Regions from separate parts of the Homo sapiens genome. Here region 1 is linked to region 2. Evidence: promoter capture Hi-C in 16 types of primary human blood cells and fetal thymus (Javierre and others, 2016). All regions are on one chromosome and are shown on one strand. Each heading gives the region's core, a stretch centred on a gene start or on the middle of the fragment in contact. The rest is flanking DNA. Distances are from core to core; before and after follow the strand shown. Region 1 overlaps DAW1 (dynein assembly factor with WD repeats 1). Region 2 holds the start of DNER (delta/notch like EGF repeat containing).

Region 1 (2,700 bases), core at 2-2,501, 1.8 Mb before region 2:
CTACAGGCGCCCGCCAGTACGCCAGGCTAATTAATTTTTTTGTATTTTTAGTAGAGACGGGGTTTCACCGTGTTAGCCAGGATGGTCTTGATCTCCTGACCTCGTGATCCACCCGCCTTGGCCTCCCAAAGTGCTGGGATGACAGGCGTGAGCCACTGTGCCCGGCCAAGCCTAGGATTCTTAGGCTCACGTAATTCTCTTGACTCATGTTTGCGACTATTGCCTTAATGCTTATCTTATAATGAGGTCATATTACTTAGCATGCTTGACATTTAATTTCTGAATTCCAGTCTTTGGTGAGCCAAATCATATGCAAGTTTCCAAGATACTACTGAATAGCAGGTGGGTGTTTCAATAATAGCATTATCAGATAGGAAAAATTATTCCACTGAATCATTCCCGTGCTACCTTTATCCCTTCTGCATATAGAGCAGTTTTGTTTTGCCTCCTAATCCTCTAATTTTCGCCCTCCCACTTTCTTTTGAATAACGTATAGGTCAGGGGCATTGTCTTGCTGCTATCTACTGAATTATCCCTCTCCCTACCTACATTCCCAAAGGCTAAATGTACATGCCAGTGACATGGCTAACCAAACATGGGACATTCCTTTTCATCTTGGTCACATTTATTAATTCATAAGCTCTTTGCTTTGGGGAGAGTGGGTGTTGACTATGTGCTTTTCAGCTAACTCAGTTATGACAATTTTTGTATTTCATTTATTGTGTGAAGTCCATAGTTCTCAGACCAGGAGAAGGAATTAAGTCAACATTAACTAAACTAGTTAACATTCTGAGCATTTTAAAGGTTTCTGTTGATTGAATATATAATCTAAGTAAAGAATACTAATATCATTTGAAGCATGCCCTTTTAATATACTGAAAAATTTGAGGAATAGAGGCTTCTTACCTAAGTGTTTTGGGAATTATATTTATTGAATAATGCACAATCAAGGGAAAATCAAGATTATTAAGATACTGTGGGAAACAGTCACTGAAGAAAAGCATGTATTTCTGGCAGCATCTTTGTTTATTTATTTTTATTTTTGAGACATAGTTTTGCTCTGTCAGCCAGGCTGGAGTACAGTGGCACAATCTTGGCTTACTGCAACCTCTGCCTCTGTCTCCCGAGTAGCTGAGATTACAGGCATGTGCCATCACACCCAACTAATTTTAGTATTTTTAGTAGATATGTGGTTTTACCATGTTGGCCAGGCTGGTCTCAAACTTCTGAACTCAAGTGAGGCACTTGCCTTGGCCTCCAAAAGTGCTGGGATTATAGGCGTGAGCCACTGCTCCCGGACTCTTTGTTTTCTGCTTTTATTCTTCATGGCACATATCACAGCCTTTTGCTCATATTGGAGCTCAGTAATCATGAGAGGGATGAACATATTGCCTAGATCAATGTTACACAACCTTTTTGGCACCAGGGACTGGTTTCATGGAAGACAATTTTTCCACAGACCAGGGGGATGGTTTTGGGATGAAACTGTTCCACCTGTGATCATCAGGCATTAGTTAGATTTGCGTAAAGAGTGTGCAGCCTAGATCCCTTGTATGCACAGTTCACCATAGGGTTCCTGCTGCTATGGAAATCTAATGCTGCTGCTGCTGATCTGACAGGAGGCTGAATGAGCTCAGGCAGTAATGCTCACTTGCCCGCCACTCACCTCCTGCTGTGTGGCCTGGGCCCTAACGGCCACAGACTGGTACTGGTCCAGGGCCCAGTGGGGTCGGGGGACCCCTGGCCTAGAGGTTTTGTCACAGCGAAGCAGTCAAACGTACATGTTTCAATTTTGTAGTGTATTCTCCAGATCCATTTGTACAGCATCCCCACCAATTTTTAGTAGTCAGCTTGAAGACTTCGAACCTTTTTACTTTATTACAAACAAGTAGTGAATAAAGAAAGCAGACTTTTGTTAACTTATTTGCTAAAATGTTAAAAATGCATTTCCTTAGGGTATTAGATCATACTCTGTGGACTGCCAAGTGCTAATTCTTTCCAACCTTTCTCTGAGTTACAGATTATTATTTTATTGCTTATTCATTGTGTACATCATTTATTTACTCAAGCATTTATTTCCTCAATAATAAATAGCACATAGTAAATACCCTCATATATAATGCAAAAAATCTAAAATTATAGTACAGAAAGAAACACTCCCTTGATGATAGTGACACCTTGCATTGATACAGAACTTGTATGTTTAAAGTATGTATCTTTCTTGAATTTTCAAATAGCTTTTTAGGGATCTTGATCTTCAAGGGTTTATATTCTGATAATGTTGATCAACTGGGCATGGTGGTGCCTGCCTTTAATCCCAGCACTTTGAGAGGCTGAGGCAGGAGGATGGCTTGAGCCCAGGAGTTGAAGACCAGCCTGAGAAACATAGTGAAATCTTGTTTCTACAAAAAATTAAAAAATTAGCTGGGCATAGCGGCATGGGCCTATAGTCCTAGCTACTCAAGAAAATGAGGCAGAAGAATGGCATGGGTTCCTAGGAGTTCGAGACTACAGTGAGTGATGATTGTACAACTGCACTGCAGCCTGGGTAACAGAGCAAGACTCTGTCTCTAACAAAATGAAGAAGAAAATATGTCGATCCCTATCATTTTTTTCTATTTTCTTGTTTTTCTCTTACTTTTTAAATTTAAATTTAATTTTTTTTTTTTTTTTTGCCCAGGGTGGAGTGCAATGGCACAA
Region 2 (3,024 bases), core at 457-2,956:
CACAGTGTTGAAAAGATAGATTCAGTTTGCTAATTTGCTATTAAATGAAATAAAAAGATTCTAGATAAATGCAAAAAAATCTGGCTGTCAAGGTCAAGTTTCTCAATCCCATTTACCTCTAAAAAATGTAAAACCTGTCATAATGAAAGGGCAGCCTTTTTCCCCATTGAAAGAACCTATTTGAGCATTCTCAAAGTAACTCTCCAATCATTGTTATCAAATTTATATGAAACAAACTCCTCCACCCTAAATGTAAGGAAGATAGTATCTGATCCCAAATATCGTCCATATTCATGTGGTTTAATGTAATCATTTCAGATAACTTCATTATTTGCCCTACCCTGCAATACAGGTTTGGGGATTTTCTACCCGTACACACAGTCCTACCAAATTGCCTACTGGAAATGTTGATGTTAATAGGTTTCACAGAGCTTTAACGGACTTGTAAAAGCCCCAGATATTATTTTCTGCCAAATTCTCCTGAAAACCCCAAATTCACGGGCGGCTGCTGGCTACATCCCATCGTCCCATCCCTCGCACCGCCCCCACGCTTTCTGGCGGCTTCCCGGTGCCCTGCTCACGCCCCGGCTGCCAGCCCCAAGCGTGCGCCCCGTGGAGCGTCCGGCAGGAAGGGCGGCCCTGCCAGCGCCACGTACAATGCCCCCTCGAATGCCTCCGACTGTTCCAACACTGCTCCTAAGCTTAGAGAGGGCTGGTCGCAGGCCGAGGGGAGGCAGCTGCCCTCCTCGTCCTCTGGCTGCTTTGTCACAGCCCTCAAGGGCGTAGGAAGAGAAGGAGAAAGTGCCCCACCACCTGGCACGGGGCCCACCATCACCTGCCTCCCACACCGCACACCCTTTACACACACAGGGTCCAGCCGGACGTGGAGCGTGGACCACCTGGACATTGAACACCTCGCCGGGGACGCTCGGAGCCGGCTCCTCCGCGCTGCCAAGGCGGGCACCGCTCAAGTGGTTCTTGGCTCGGCCCGGCCTGGAGGGGCGCGCCACTCAGTGGCCAACCGGAGCGTCTAGAGCCCCGCGCGAGAAGTGCCGAGCCCCGGAGCGGCACACCCCGAGAGCCCGGCTGGCCCCGCCCGGGAACCAGGGCGGGTAAGGGAATCAGGGTCGGCCCGGGGGTCCGCGTCCACGCGGGCCAAGAGACTGGATCCATCTTCTTCCCAAAGTGGGAAAGCCTGTGTCAGGCGTGCCCATTGTCGGGCAGCAGCAGCAGGGCCGGCGGGAAGAGGCTGCTGGTCCCGGACCAGCGCCCCGCACCGCGCCCGCCGCTTCCACTCACCTGGCAGTTGGCGCCGGAGATCCCGGCGGGGCAGGTGCAGCTGTAGCCAGGCTCGCCGGCGGGGGCCGGGTGCTGCGGGTCCGGCTCAGGGCGCGAGGTGCACACACCCCCATTCCGGCAGGGCTGCGCGGCGCACGGCCCGGGCGCAGACAGGGGCGCGGCGGGCACCGGGTTGGCCAGGGAGCTGCCTCGGGGCCCCGCTCCGAGCAGCAGCAGCAGCAGGGCCAGCGCGGGCAGCAGCTGCGCACCGGGCGCCTGGGCGCGGCGGGGCTGCATGGCCGGCCGGGAGGGCGCGGGAGCCGGAGCCAGGACGCAGTGACGGCGGCGGCGGTGGCAGTGGCGACGAGAGCTGCGAGAGCGACGGTGGCGGCTAGGGCTGCTCCGCCGGGCCGGGCGCCTCCTGCAGCTGCGGGATCCGCGGTTCCCCGGGCAACGGCGGGCGGGGCCTGCGGGGCGGGGCGGGGCGGGGCGAGCGGGGGGCGGGGCGCCTGGCGGCCCCGGCTCTGGAGCATCGGGGAGTGGGGCCTCTTTCCCCGCAGGGAGTTGGGATGGGGGTTGCAGGAAGACGATGCGGGACCCCATCCCCCAGGAGTGGGTCGAAGTCACGGGTGTGTCCAGAAGCAGCCCTGGTACAGGGAGCCAGGCGACGCTGGGGCAGGAAAGGGGCTGGAGAGGTCCACGAGTGAGGGAAGCGGGGCTTTGAGGGGCTTCCAGAGCCGGGAGCACCGAGTGCGCCCCAAGGCCCGGGCAGGGCAGGGCGCGGGAGGCGGCAGGGCGCCTCAAGGGAGGGGCGGCGCGCTCGCAGCAGCCACCTTTGGCCTCTTGGCGCAGAATCTGCGAGACCGCCGCGGGGCCCGGCCTTGCCTCATCCCCCGGGACTGCTCCCCTTCCCACAGCGCTTCTCCCGGCACCCCAAGCCCTCCCGCCCGGCCACGGAACCCTGCGCCCGACGCTTGCTCAGCAGCCGGGTTCGCCTGGAAGTGACCTCGCCTCCGCCAGGCGGACCCGGGGCCCTTGTCCTTGGTGCTGACCCAGCTGTCTCATTCTCGCCGGCCCTTTCCAGAGCGCGGGGCCTTGCCGCACCACTAAGGAACGTCTGGCCGCGCCGTGTGAGGCCGGGAAGAGGCCTTGGTGTAAGGCTGTCCACCCCTGTCGTTGAACCTAGGGGGAAACTGAGGCCCAGAAAGTCTGGATTCGAATCCAGTGGGTCAATTGACTCCCAGCCCAGAACGCCCGAAAGAACAGTTCAAAAGCCCAGGTTGGCAGAGGCGCTGCTAGCGGCAGGAATCGCAACAGGGGACTCTGCATAAAAGGAGCATTCGCTGTGACCTACTTCGGAGGGGATGGGGGGGGCGGGCTCTTCTACACGTCCTGGCTGGGCTGGCTGGTGCTGCGACCGCCAAGGAGGCTGCACTCCGCTGAATAAAGCGCATCCAGCCTTGTCTCCTCCACCTGACCTTTCACAATCTCTATTACCTGTGGGTTCCCAGGTACCTGTTACCTTCTTTTTAAGGTGGCCAAATGAAAAAAGAAAATGTGATTCCCCTGGATTGACAGTCTGGGCCAATTTTTTTTTTAGTAAACACAAAAATAGCTTGTTTTGTTTTTTAAAAAAATTAAAGTAAGGACTCCATGTGAACTTCTGCTGTAGGTGTCACAGACGCCAGGGATTGCTAAAAGTCCTCCAGTGGAAACAGAAGGCAAACTGCACGGCTTCTCCCTGTC

The links. The method cuts DNA at HindIII sites, captures the fragments that hold promoters and counts their contacts. A CHiCAGO score of 5 or more calls a contact.
Region 1: a fragment that was not itself captured here is called in contact with the fragment with the promoter of DNER in region 2 in 4 of 17 cell types (total CD4 T cells, naive B cells, fetal thymus and 1 more); the score reaches 11.0 in total CD4 T cells.

What each region holds. Positions count from the first base shown.
Region 1 is chr2:227,876,153-227,878,852 of GRCh38, forward strand. All of the region lies in intron 1 of DAW1 (dynein assembly factor with WD repeats 1), which reads left to right. Among named protein-coding and RNA genes, the nearest start is that of DAW1, 5.9 kb to the left of the region's middle. The HindIII fragment of the contact is 4,250 bases long and covers 1-2,700 here.
Region 2 is chr2:229,712,849-229,715,872 of GRCh38, forward strand. It overlaps DNER (delta/notch like EGF repeat containing), which reads right to left and starts at 1,707. Exons shown (of 13, transcript NM_139072.4): 1 at 1,300-1,707. The coding sequence starts at 1,575. RefSeq lists silencers at 1,538-1,647, 1,718-1,777 and enhancers at 1,615-2,389, 2,390-3,024. The HindIII fragment of the contact is 4,517 bases long and covers 700-3,024 here.